Regions from separate parts of the Homo sapiens genome. Here all the other regions are linked to region 2. The links are contacts of gene promoters, found by promoter capture Hi-C in blood cells and fetal thymus (Javierre and others, 2016). All regions are on one chromosome and are shown on one strand. The core of a region is centred on a gene start or on the middle of the fragment in contact, and the rest is flanking DNA. Distances in the headings are between cores, read along the strand shown. Region 1 overlaps FKBP6 (FKBP prolyl isomerase family member 6 (inactive)). Region 2 holds the start of DNAJC30 (DnaJ heat shock protein family (Hsp40) member C30). Region 3 has its middle 12 kb from the start of ELN.

Evidence for each region. The method cuts DNA at HindIII sites, captures the fragments that hold promoters and counts their contacts. A CHiCAGO score of 5 or more calls a contact.
Region 1: a contact is called between a fragment that was not itself captured here and the fragment with the promoter of DNAJC30 in region 2, in 1 of 17 cell types (erythroblasts). The highest score is 5.0, in erythroblasts.
Region 3: a contact is called between a fragment that was not itself captured here and the fragment with the promoter of DNAJC30 in region 2, in 3 of 17 cell types (M0 macrophages, endothelial precursors and erythroblasts). The highest score is 5.9, in M0 macrophages.

Annotation. Positions count from the first base shown.
Region 1 is chr7:73,339,931-73,343,857 of GRCh38, forward strand. It overlaps FKBP6 (FKBP prolyl isomerase family member 6 (inactive)), which reads left to right. Exons shown (of 9, transcript NM_003602.5): 6 at 708-902; 7 at 1,343-1,452; 8 at 2,877-2,969. The coding sequence ends at 2,967. Among named protein-coding and RNA genes, the nearest start is that of FKBP6, 14 kb to the left of the region's middle. RefSeq lists an enhancer at 2,185-3,129. The HindIII fragment of the contact is 1,652 bases long and covers 772-2,423 here.
Region 2 is chr7:73,682,196-73,686,174 of GRCh38, forward strand. DNAJC30 (DnaJ heat shock protein family (Hsp40) member C30) reads right to left here and starts at 1,258. Exons shown (of 1, transcript NM_032317.3): 1 at 1-1,258. The coding sequence starts at 1,228. The coding sequence ends at 548. BUD23 (BUD23 rRNA methyltransferase and ribosome maturation factor) reads left to right here and starts at 1,402. Exons shown (of 12, transcript NM_017528.5): 1 at 1,402-1,478; 2 at 1,572-1,609. The coding sequence starts at 1,431. RefSeq lists enhancers at 680-769, 1,010-1,179, 2,110-2,959, 2,960-3,809. The HindIII fragment of the contact is 21,940 bases long and covers 1-3,979 here.
Region 3 is chr7:74,014,107-74,018,414 of GRCh38, forward strand. No RefSeq gene overlaps it. Among named protein-coding and RNA genes, the nearest start is that of ELN, 12 kb to the right of the region's middle. The HindIII fragment of the contact is 1,787 bases long and covers 1,652-3,438 here.

The sequences.
Region 1 (3,927 bases), core at 348-2,847, 340 kb before region 2:
TCAACTTGTCTGTGTCTACAAAAAAGGCTGTTGAAATTTTGGTAGGGTTGCATGAATATGTTGACCAGTTAGGAAAATATTACCATCTTAATATTGTCTTCCAATTAATGAACATGAGATATTTTTCCATTTTATTTGAATCATCTTTAATTTCTTTCAACAACCATTTTGTAGTTTTCAGTGTGCAAGTCTTTCAGTTGTTTTAAGTTTATTGCTACTTACTGTATTCTTTTTGATGCTATTGTAAATGGAGTTGTTTTCTTAATTTCATTTTTGGGTAGTTCGTTGCTAGAGCATAGAAATATACCTGACTTTTGGCCGGGCATGGTGGCTCACGCCTGTAATCCCAACACTTTGGGAGGCTGAGGCAGGTGGATCACGAGGTCAGGAGATCGAGACCATCCTGGCCAAAATGGTCATATTAAAATATGAAAAAATTAGCCGGGCATGGTGGTGCACACCTGTAGTCCCAGCTACTCAGAAGGCGGAGGTTGCAGTGAGCTGAGATCACTCCAGCCTGGCGACAGAACAAGACTCCGTCTGAAAAAAGAAGAAAAAAGAAATATACCTGACTTCTTATGTTGATCTTGTGTCTTGCAACCTGTAACAGCCGATTTTTAGCTCTGATAGTTTTTGCGTGTGGATTCTTTAGGGTTTTGTACATAAGACTGTTACTCCTCTTGACCATCTGCCTTCCCTCTCCACAGGCCCTATTGCTTCTGCGCCGGCGATCAGCACCCCCTGAAGAGCAGCACCTGGTGGAGGCCGCCAAGCTTCCTGTTCTCCTGAACCTGTCCTTTACATACCTGAAGCTAGACCGACCCACCATAGCCCTGTGCTATGGAGAGCAGGCTTTGATCATTGACCAAAAGAATGCCAAGGCCCTCTTCAGGTGTGGACAGGTGAGTTGGAAGCCAGTGACTTGGGAATAAACACCCAGGAAAAGGTAGTAGCAGTGCTCAACTCAGCTACTGCAAAAATGCTGTCTTTTTTTTTTTTTTTTTTTTTTTTAGACAGAGTTTTGCTCTTGTTGCCCAGGATGGAGTGCAGTGGCGCAAATTCGGCTCGCTGCAACCTCCGCTTCCTGGCTTCAAGCAATTTTCCTGCCTCAGCCTCTCAAGTAGCTGGGATTACAGGCATGCGCCATCACACCCAGCTAATTTTTGTAGTTTTAGTAGAGATAGGGTTTTGCCGTGTTGGCCAGGCTGGTCTGGAATCCCTGACCTCAGTTGATCCGCCCGCCTTGGCCTCCCAAAGTGCTGGGATTACAGGCATGAGCCACCGTGCCCAGCCAAATGATATCTTTTCTAACTGTGCTTTTAAAGTTCTCTCCTTGGGACAGGCTTGTCTTCTCCTGACTGAGTATCAAAAGGCCCGGGATTTTCTAGTTCGAGCCCAGAAGGAGCAACCCTTCAATCATGACATCAATAATGAGCTGAAGAAACTGGCTAGGTGAGCTGTGTTTGCAGGAGCATGAAGAGAGATGGGTGGGGTTGTGACTCTGGTCTGTCCCCCCACCCCCCCCAACAAAGGACAGTCTGGCGGTGTTGCCCAGAGTGTTAGGAGGCCGCCCCCTCTACAGCTGGGTTTCTGAAGTGCTCGGCCGTGCGCTGCACCAGCAGTTCCCAGCAAGCAGGTGAGACAGACTGCCAGACTATACATCTCCATCATCGCCCACCTTTCTGTTTCCCCTACCGCAAATAAACAACCCCTAGAGAGGTGGGAGGGTGTCACTTTTTTTTTTTTTTTTTGAGATGGAGTCCCTCTCTGTCACCTAGGCTATAGGGCAATGGCATGATCTCGGCTCACTGCAACCTCCGCGTCCCGAGTTCAGACGATTCTCCTGTCTCAGCCTCCAAGGTAGCTGGGATTACAGGCGTGTACCACCACATCTGGCTAATTGTTTTTGTATTTTAGTTGAGACAGGGTTTCACCGTGTTGACCAGGCTGGTCTCAAACTCCTGACCTCAGGTGATCCCCCCACCTCGTCCTTCCAAAGTGCTGGGATTACAGGCACAAGCCACCACAACTGGCCCCGGTGTCACTTAAAAAGAGTCTTCTGGTGCGCTCTTCCCTGCGTGCTCCACCAAGAACCACTGCTCCTAACCAAGTGCAGAAAGGCCCCTCGTAGGTCCTCATGTGACCAGAAACAGGCGTTTCGGGTCTGACTCATACCCATGGATTGACCTCCTTGTTACCCACGTGACTAAGCACACCAGTCTTTTAGTGATGTAATTTTTTCTCATTATAGAAGTTTTGTGTCCATTGTAGAAAACCTTGAAAATGTCTACCTATAAATAGGAGTCCCCCATAACTCCATCACTTGGTAATAGGTCCATGGTTTTTAAGGTATATCTTCTTCTGTAATGGTGAAATTCTCTACTTGTCTTAATATTAAACATTCGGTCCAGATTGCTAGTTAAAGCTTGCTTGGCATTAGTGTCTGAGATGTGAGTATCTCTTAGGTTACATTTCAAGCCTTTTAGGACTTGCCAGCAATTTCCTTTCTGGTATTTAAAAGTATCCTGTCAGATCTGGTCATTCTTTAGTGAGAAAATCAGGAGAGGTTAGAGGCTGCTGAGGGTGAGGGGTCGTTTGGCGAGACTCAGCCCGGAGCCTGGTGGCCAGAGGCACCTGCCCTTCAAGGCAGCTGTCCTTTCCAGTTAGGGGGTTTTGTCCAGGGGCTTGGCTCCTTGGCCAGCTGTGGGAGCCTTCCCTGCCTCCCCACCTCTCCAGCTTACTTCCATCCCTCCCAACTCAGTTTGAGTCCTGATAAATTTTCAGTGTTTCTGGATGTGAGTGGAGAATTCCAGCCACCAGATGTCACCTCCTCCAAACACAGACCTCCTCTAACAAGTGTGTATTTCCCTCTCCAGCTGTTACAGGGACTATGTGGATAAAGAGAAAGAAATGTGGCACCGCATGTTCGCGCCCTGTGGCGATGGTTCTACAGCAGGAGAAAGTTGAAGGTAATCAAAGGGCCAGGGTGGCACACAGGCTTCCGGATGGAGAAGCGTGCTGCTCTCCTCCACCCCCAAGTGAATGGTGGCTGTCTGCAGCTGAGGGTGGACGAGGGGTAGACAAGTTCCTTGCTGTAAAGAACAACACAACGGTAGTGCAGGATGCACGTGCTGCACGCCTACCTTTCCCGTGAGAAGAAAGTTCGCCCAGACCTGTGGGTTAAATGTATAGGTTCAGGGGGCCTTGAGCTATTTATTTATTTATTTGTTTGTTTGTTTGTTTGAGGCAGAGTCTCACTCTGTTGCCCAGGCTGGAGTGCAGTGGTGCGATCTCAGCTCACTGCAAGCTCCGCCTCCCAGGTTCAAGCGATTCTTCTGCCTCAGCCTCCTGAGTAGCCGAGATTACAGCTGTGAGCCGTGGCGCTCAGCCTAAATTTATTTTTTAAAAAACCTTTTTTTTTCATGTTTTATGTGAAACTCTCCTTGCAGTTGCTTGGAACATGAGACTGAGTAGAGTCATGAATGTGATGGTTGATAGAGCTGGGCTTTGACGTGTCAAGCTTCTGTTCATCTTCTTTCTCCTGAGAACTCGAAAGCCTCCAACTTGACTGTGTCTCTAACACATTACTAAAGCAGACAAGATCGCAGGGTGGGGATGGGCTGTGGCTCTTAAATTCTACTTTCTATTAGACTTAGAGATTTGAAGATGCTGAAAGCAACAGGGAGCGGAATATAGCATTCCTCCCAAGATCACACCTAGTAATTTTGCAGGCACAGGGCGGGAGTTCCCAAGCACATGAGATAACCCTCCAGTCTGAACCCTCCAGTCTGGTCTACTATTTAATAAAATTAATGGAAACAAAATCACCTGCCTGAAACACCTGCTTAGCTGCACAGATAACTCTGCTCTCTCGGAGAAGTCAAACAAGGAACAACAAGAAAACAGCTGCTGAACGGGCTCATGGTG
Region 2 (3,979 bases), core at 8-2,507:
CAGGCTCTCCACCGATCCCATTCTTACCCTGGACCAGGTCTCACCTGCGGCTTGGGGAAGTCACAGAAAGACAAGTTTCGTACAACCCCAGACCTTTTCTTTTGGTAGTCAACAATTGGTCACATTGCACATTTCAAGGTTACAGAGGCCCACCATACACATGCGGGGCAGGAGGAGATAAATCTTGCTTGGGGCTAAACAATAAAGCTACAGCGAGTGTTCCAGAAGTTGACCACATCTGGAAGCAAGAAGACAGACTCTGGAAGAAGCACCCTAGAGACTCCAGGAACCCCCTTCACTCCTGGGCTTTCGGGACTCTACAGCGTGGGGCCTCTTTCTCAGACATCGAAAGGCCTCCTTTTCTGGACCACAGTGGAGCGATGTGCAGGTCATCGGCTAAGCTGGGCGGGTCGGGGAGGGCAGGGGGAGTACAGTTCCTTCGGATCCCAGCAAAGGTAGACTATCAATGGCCAAGGGTTCAGAGGCAGGAAAAAAGGCCGTTTCTGGGGGGTTGGCTGGGGACACTCCCCTTCCCTTCTCTCTCCGATTAAATATAAAAGCCGATGATGATGAAGATTGAAAAGATGAGGAAAATGGCAGCCGTGTCTCGGGTATCCTCCCAGCGGAGGCCTTTCATGGACCGATACTCCTGCCGTTTGCGAAGGGCCTCCCGCCGGGCCCTCAGGCGCCGTTCCCGCTCCAGTTGTTCCCCGTAGTGGGCCTGGTAGAAGGCGTCAAAGTTGAACATCGTGCGGTTGGCGCCGGGGGAGGCCCGAGAACCGTCGTGGGTCCGAGAGGTGGGCGGCGGGGTACGCGGCGAGCCGGGGTCGGGTGCGGGCGTCCTGGAGGGCCGGACGCCAGGTCCGCGCAGGTCCTCGTCGCTGAGTAGGCCGCGATCATACTTGCGACGGAGGGTGGCACTGCCCAGCACCACGTAGGCCTGGGAGATGCGCGTGAAGCGCTCGGCGGCCTCCGCGCTCCCGGAGTTGCGGTCCGGGTGGTAGAGAAAGCACTGACGGTAGTAAGCCGCCTTGATTTGGGCCTGCGTGGCTGTGGAGGGGACGCCGAGCAGATCATACAGCGCCGTGCGCGAATACGAGCAGTCGCCCTGGGAATAAGTCCTCGCTCCTAGGCCCAGGCTGGGTGCAGAATTTTGTGGAAAGCCACGGGCCTGCAGCAACCTCCAAGGTAACAGCCGCTGCCACCATCGCCAGCGCATGGCTGCCATGTTGAATTGATTCGGCAGGCGGTGCAAGAGAAACCGGCCAATGAGAGGAGTCGGTTGGTCGCCCTGTGGCCAGTCACGTAAAGGGGGGGGCGGGGCGGTCGTGGGGGTGGAACATGCGTATTACTAAGCGGTCGCCGGGCTGATGACATAAAAACCGGGTGCCGGCAGGCGCCAGTCGCAGGTGTGCTGCTGAGGCGTGAGAATGGCGTCCCGCGGCCGGCGTCCGGAGCATGGCGGACCCCCAGAGCTGGTAAGTCCCGGGGCCCGCGGACACCCCTCTCCCCACTTCTGCGGCCACCGCGTCTGAATTATTCCTCTACATGCCATTTTCTCTTTTTCGCAGTTTTATGACGAGACAGAAGCCCGGAAATACGTTCGCAAGTGAGGGGAGCCTGAATACTGCGGGGCGTCCGGGGGTCGGGAAGCGGCAAGTTGCCCCTGTTGCTGGCGTTGCCCGGAAAGGCCGTAGAATTTGGGGGTGCGGGAAGGGAAGGACCCGGGTGGGTGCCGATTTCTGTCTCTGGTAAATCAACTTTAAGTTGCCGACCTCTCTGGGCCTCGGTACCTCAGCGTTGAGGTAGGGGTGATCGCGCTTGCTTTCCGTGGGTGGTTTTCAAAGTCGAATGTGACAATTTGTCCTAAACATGTGGTAAAAGAGGCGCTGGGCGGTGGGTACGGGCGAGGGGTCAGTCCTGGTGGGGGGAAGGAAGTAATGGCCGTAGGATGCTTATCGTGGCGCCTTGTTGCCAATAAATCTCCAAGACAGCAGTTGGTGTATTATTGTCTGAATTTCATAGAGGGTAGTTTGTATAACTACTGAGTTGTAGCCAGGTGGGAGTGGCTCACGCGTGTAATCTCAGCAATCGCAGCACTTTGGGAGGCTGAGGCGGGAGGATCGCTTGAGCTCAGGGGTTCGAGACCAGCCTGGGCAACGTAGCGAGCCCCCGTCTCCGCAAGTAATAAAAAAATTAGCCGGGTGTGGTGGCTCCCCTCTGCCTCTCCAGTAGTTGGGACCACAGGCGCGCGCCACTACGCCTGGCTTTTTTTTGTAAATTTTTGTTGCGATGGGGTCTCGCTGTGTTGCCCAAGGTGGCCCAAGCCCAGGGCTCAAGCGATCCTCCCGCCTTCGTCTCCCGAACTGTTGGGATTGCAGGCGTGAGCCAGCGCACCTCGAGTCGTTAAAAAAAAAAAAAAGGGGGGGGGATGGGGGCGGGGGGAAGCTGGCGCGGTGTCTCACGCCTGTAATCGCAACACTTTGGGAGGCTGAGGCAGACGGATCACCTGAGGTCAGGAGTTCGAGACCAGCCTGGCCAACATGGCGAAACTCCAGCTCTACTAAAAATGGAAAAAATTAGCCGGGCGCGATGGCGGGTTTCTGTAACCCCAGCTACTCGGGAGGCTGAGGCAGGAGAATAGCTTGAACCCGGGAGGGGGAGGTTGCAGTGAGCCGACATCACGGCACTGCACTCCAGCCTGGGCGACAGAGCAAGACTTTGTTTCAAAAAAAAAAAAAAAAAAAAAAAAAAAAAAAAAAAAGATACTTTGTGGTTTTTCCGTGCTCTCTCACTGAGAGACTAGCCCTATTTCAGTAAATGGTTACTGGCCGGGCGCTATGGCTCATACCAGTAATCCCAGCCCTGTGGGAGGCGGAGGTGGACGGATCACCTGAGGTCAGGAATTCCGAGACCAACCTGGCCAGCATGGTGAAATCCCGTCTCTACTGAAAATACAGATATTAGCCGGGCCTACGGGAGGCTGAGGCAGGAGAATCACTTGAACCTGAGAGGCAGAGGTTGCAGTGAGCTGCGATCGCACCACTGCACTCCAGCCTTGGCGACAGAGTGAGACCCTGACTCAATAAATAAATAAATAGCTATTGGATACTGTTTCTTTTTTTTAGGGACAGGGTCTCTCTATTGCCCAGGCTGGAGTGCCATGGCATGATCCCTGCCGACTGCAGCCTCAAGCCATCCTCCCCAGCAGCCGGAACTAGAGGCACTCGCCACCACACCGGCTGAAATAGCTTGATAATTTTTTGTGCGTGTGAGACAGGCTCTCATTCTATCGCCCAGGCCGAAGTGCTGCAGTGGCTGCAACCTCGCCTCCCGGGTAGTTGGAACTACAGGCGCGCCTCCTCGCGCCCGACTAGTTTGTGTAATTTTTTTGTGGAGAGGGAGTTTTGCTATGTTGCCCAGGGATCTGGTAAGTTGCTCACGGGATCCACCCGCCTTGGCCTCCCAAAGTACTGGGATTATAGGCGTGAGCCACCAGGCCCGGTCCTTGCTGATGACTTTTTATGTCGATTATATGTTGAAGTGATATTTTGAACATATTGAGTTAATGGAAATACGTTATTAAATATATGGGGTTAAAAATATGACTCCAGAGGCCGGGCGCGGTGGCTCACGCCTGTAATCCCAGCACTTTGGGAGGCCGAGGCTGGCGGATCACAAGGTCAGGAGATAGAGAAATCCTGGCTAACATGGTGAAACCCCGTCTCTACTGAAAATGCAAAAAAAAAAATTAGCCGGGCGTGGCGGCGGGCGCCTGTAGTCCCAGCTGCTGGGGAAGCTGAGGCAGGAGAATGGCATTAACCCGGGAGGCGGAGCTTGCAGTGAGCCGAGATCGCGCCACTGCACTCCAGCCTGGGCGACAACAGAGCAAGACTCCGTCTCAAAAAAAAAAAAAAATATGACTCCAGTTTCTTTTACCTGTTTCTTTAAGTTTCTTCTTGACTGGCTATTGGGAAGC
Region 3 (4,308 bases), core at 1,295-3,794, 330 kb after region 2:
CTGCTGTTCTTGGCCAAGGGCCTCCGCTGAGCCTGGCACAGCCTCGGCTTGGCCCTCACCAGCGAGTGAGGGCTTGGCTGGGGCCCAGCCAGGGCGGTGGACATGATTGAAGCTAGAACATGGGGCCTGGCGGGCGGTGGAGGTTCACTTGGACCCCAGGGAGTGGCTCTGCCGCAGGGTCGGGACTCACCTCCTGGGGCCCCTCTCATCTGACAGAAGCTTCAGGGCCTTCTCCGAGCCCACCTGGTCCAGAAAACATACAGACCCTGCTCCTTCACTCCCCTGAAACAAATCTGGGTTTTCCCACAAGGAAAGAAGCAGAAAGTTGAGAACAAAACCCTGGTTCTCCCTCCTGTTACAGGCCTTGATCGAGTCTCTACCATTTCCGAGGCTCAGTGCAAAGCTCCACGTAGAGGATGCAGAAATGAATTTTCTATGGAGCCCCAGGACGGGGCCACACCTCTTTTTACTGCCCCAGTTTCTCCAAACGGCCCTGAACCAGGGATCTGAGCAGGGCTGTAGCTAAGATTTTGCTGAGCAGCTATTTTGTGCTTGCATGCATGCAATGTGCTTGAGCTCCCTGACTCCCTGCCACACCCTCTCTAAGAGATGAGGAAACTGAAGCTCAGGGAGGGTACCTTGCCCAAGGTCAAAGTGCCCAAAGTGGAACAAGAGGGACTTGAACTTGCGCCATGTGGACTCAGAGCCTCTGCTTTTAACCACAGGGGTGTAGTGGGAAGGGGGTGTCTGGGGAAGGGCGTGTCTGGGGAAGGGCGGAAGGTCCTGAGGCCGGCTCAGAGGGAGACAGGCATTGCAGGTGGGCAGAACCAGGGGAGGACCGAATGGTGCTGAATGGTGCCCGAACAGTCTCCAAGGACCATCATAGAAACCCAGGAGCCCCCCTGGTCCATTTCATTAGTGATTTGTGTTTTCACATCTTTTCATTTACAGGCCTTATTTGGGGACCTCTTTCTGCAAAGGTACTTGGAGAGAAACAGTACAACCTCAGAACCCCAGTTACCCACCAACTTCCTTTTTTATTTTCTTTTTTTTTTTTTTTTTTTTTGAGACAGGGTTCAATCTGTCACCCAGGCTGGAGTGCAGTGGCACGATCTCAGCTCACTGCAACCTCCACCTTCCAGGCTCAAGCGATCCTCCAGCCTCAGCCCCGCCAAGTAGCTGAGACTACAGGCACACGCCATTAAGTCTGGCTAATTTTGTGTGTGTGTGTGTGTGTGTGTGTGTGTGTGTGTGTTTTGTAGAAATGGGGTTTTGCCATATTGCCCAGGCTGGTCTCGAACTCCCGGGCTCAAGTGATCCGCCCACCTTGGTCTCCCAAATTGCTGGGATTATAGGCATGAGTCACCACACCTGGCCCCAAGTTCCATTTTTTAAAAATTTTATTATAATCCCACCCCAGGAACAGCTGGCTCACCAGATGGTAAGTGACTATCCCGTGAGATGGCTCCATTAAGTCCATACATTGAATATTGGAGTCAAGGGAGAAACGCAGAATTAGGCAGACATCAGACTAGATTGGATTCACCATCATATTCTCAATGCTCAGCACAGGAACAGAAATTAGTAGTTGCTAAATCAATATTTGCTGAATAAACAAGTAAGTGCCTTTCTGTTAAATGGGTAATAGCCAAGCTTCTAAACTATCTTATTATCATTATTATTATTTTTTTTCTTTTAGAAACAGAGACTCACTCTGTTGCCCAGACTGGAGCGCAATGACGTAGTCATGACTCACTGCAGCCTTGAGCTCCTGGACTCAAGTGAGCCTCCTACCTCAGCCTCCTGCATGGCTGGAGTACAGGCATATACCACCATACCCAGCTAATTGTTTTGTTTGTTTTTTGCAGAGATGGGGGTTTCGCTATGTTGCCCACGCTGATCTCTAACTCCTGGCTTCAAGGAATCCTCCCACATCAGCCTCCCAAAGTGCTGGGATTACAGGCGTGAGCCACTGCGCCCAGACAAACCATCTCTGTTAATTGATGCCTGAGTACCATTGAATGAATCATTTAAACTCTACTTTGGATTAATCCTAATAAGGGATTTAGACTAGATCAGGGTCATTTAAGACACAAAGTATAGGCCATACCTCCCACTTCTTGCTCCCAGCAGACATGACCCATTGACTGTGTGATTCCCGTCTGCTGAGACTGGATATCCTCAGAATCCTTCTTAACACCACTTCTGATGGCCATTGCCCATCAAACACAGTTGGTGACGGAACCTATCTGCCATACTGGTTGGAATGAGCTCCCCCAGCCCATTAAAGAGAGAGGCAGCTGAGAGAAATCCAGGCTGTAGGGAGAGTTTAGGGAGGAGTAAGGAGGGACTAGATAAGATGCTCTTTTTTTTTTCTTTTTTCTTTTCTTTTTTTTTTTTTTTTTTGAGAAGGAGTCTCCGTCTGTCACCCAGGCTGGAGTGCACTGGCACGATCTCGGCTCACTGCAACCTCCACCTCCCATGTTCAAGTGATTCTCCTGCCTCAGCCTCCCAAGCAGCTGGGACTATAGGCATGTGCCACCATGCCTGGCTAATTGTATTTTTAGTAGAGACGAAGTTTCACCTTGTTGGCCAGGCTGGTCTCGAACTCCTGACCTCAAGCAATCTGCCTCAGCCTCCCAAAGTGCTAGGATTACAGGCGTGAGCCACCTCACCCAGCCAGGGCTCTTTAAAGATTCCTAATTCCGGGCTGGGCACAGTGGCTCACACCTATAATCCCAGCACTTTGGGAGGCTGAGGGGGGCGGATCGCTTGAGGTCAGGAGTTCAAGACCAGCCTGGCCAACATGGCGAAACCCCATCTCTACTAAAAATACAAAAGTTAGCGGGGCACAGTGTCAGGCACCTGTCATCCCAGCTACTTGGGAGGCTGAGGCAGGAGAATCATTTGAACCCAGAAGATGGAGGTTGCAGTGAGCCGAGATCGCACCACTGCACTCCAGCCTGAGTGACAGAGTGAGAGTCTGTCTCAAAAAAAAAAAAAAAAAAGAAAAGAAAAGAAAAAGAAAGAGAGATTCCTTATTCTGGTCTGGGGACCCTCAGAGTTCCATGAATGGGTGAGCTTCTCCACCACCAGGAGAGGGAACACAAAAACCCACATGGAGAAAGGATGGTGGCCCCCAGCTTGCTGCCTGAATCCTAACAGGCGTTGGAACCAGCTCTCAGCCTGAAAACCACAGGCAGCTCAGAGCTTTTATTAATTCCAGGGGCTGGAGGAAGGGCTGGGGCCCTCGAAAGAGGCTGTGCAGCTGACGACCCAGGAGGGAAGAGTTTTTTTTCCAAACGCTGAGGCCACCACGCTTTGGGAAGGGTGAGGGTAGACAGGCCAAGTCCTGGCTCTGGGGGGATTTAAAATGCTGTGTCAACGTAGGTCATAGACCTAATTGTGAAAGGGAAAACTGTAATGTTTCTAAAATAAAGCTTAACAGATTATCTTCATGACCTTCAGGTGGGCACAGATTTCTTAAACAGGACAGATGAAGCACTAACCCCTAGAGAAAAGACGGATACATTTGACTTTGTTAAAATTAAGGAATTGTAGTCATCAAAAGACAGCATTAAAAGTAAGGCAAGCCAGGCAGGGTGGCTCATGCTCATAATCCCAGTGCCTTGAGAGGCCAAGGTGGGAGGATCGCTTGAAGCCAGGAGTTCAAGGCCAACCTGGGCAACATAGCAAGACCCCCATCTCTACAAACAATCAAAATAAATATAAATAAAGGCAAGCCAAAGATTGAGAGAAGATCTTTCTCACACAGATAGCTAACTGCAGAATTGTATCAACATAAAGAACTCCACGCATCATAAGGAAATATCAATCCTATTTTCAAAAATGTGCATAAGACGTAAAAAGTCACTTCACAAACAAGGATAATCAAATGCCCAAAAAGCGTGTGAGAAAGTGTGCGCCATCATTACTCATCAGGGAAATTAAAGTTAAAATCACACTGGGAGCCCAGCGCAGAGGCTCCCGCCAGTAATCACAGCACTTCGGGAGGCCAAGATGGGAGGATCACTTGAGGCCAGAAGTTTGAGACCAGCCTGGGCAACATAATGAGACCCCAAGTCCAAAAAATTTAAAAAGTAGCCGGGCGTGTTGGTGCACACCTGTAGTCCCAGCTACTCGGGAGACTGAGGCGGGAGGATCACTTGAGCCCGGGAGGCTGAGGCTGCAGTAAGCTATGATAGCACCACTGCACTGCAGCCTGGATAACAGAGCAAGACCCTGTCTCAAAAATAAATAAAATACTCTTATGAGTTGCATTAGCAGTTGCGTGAGCAGATGTCATCT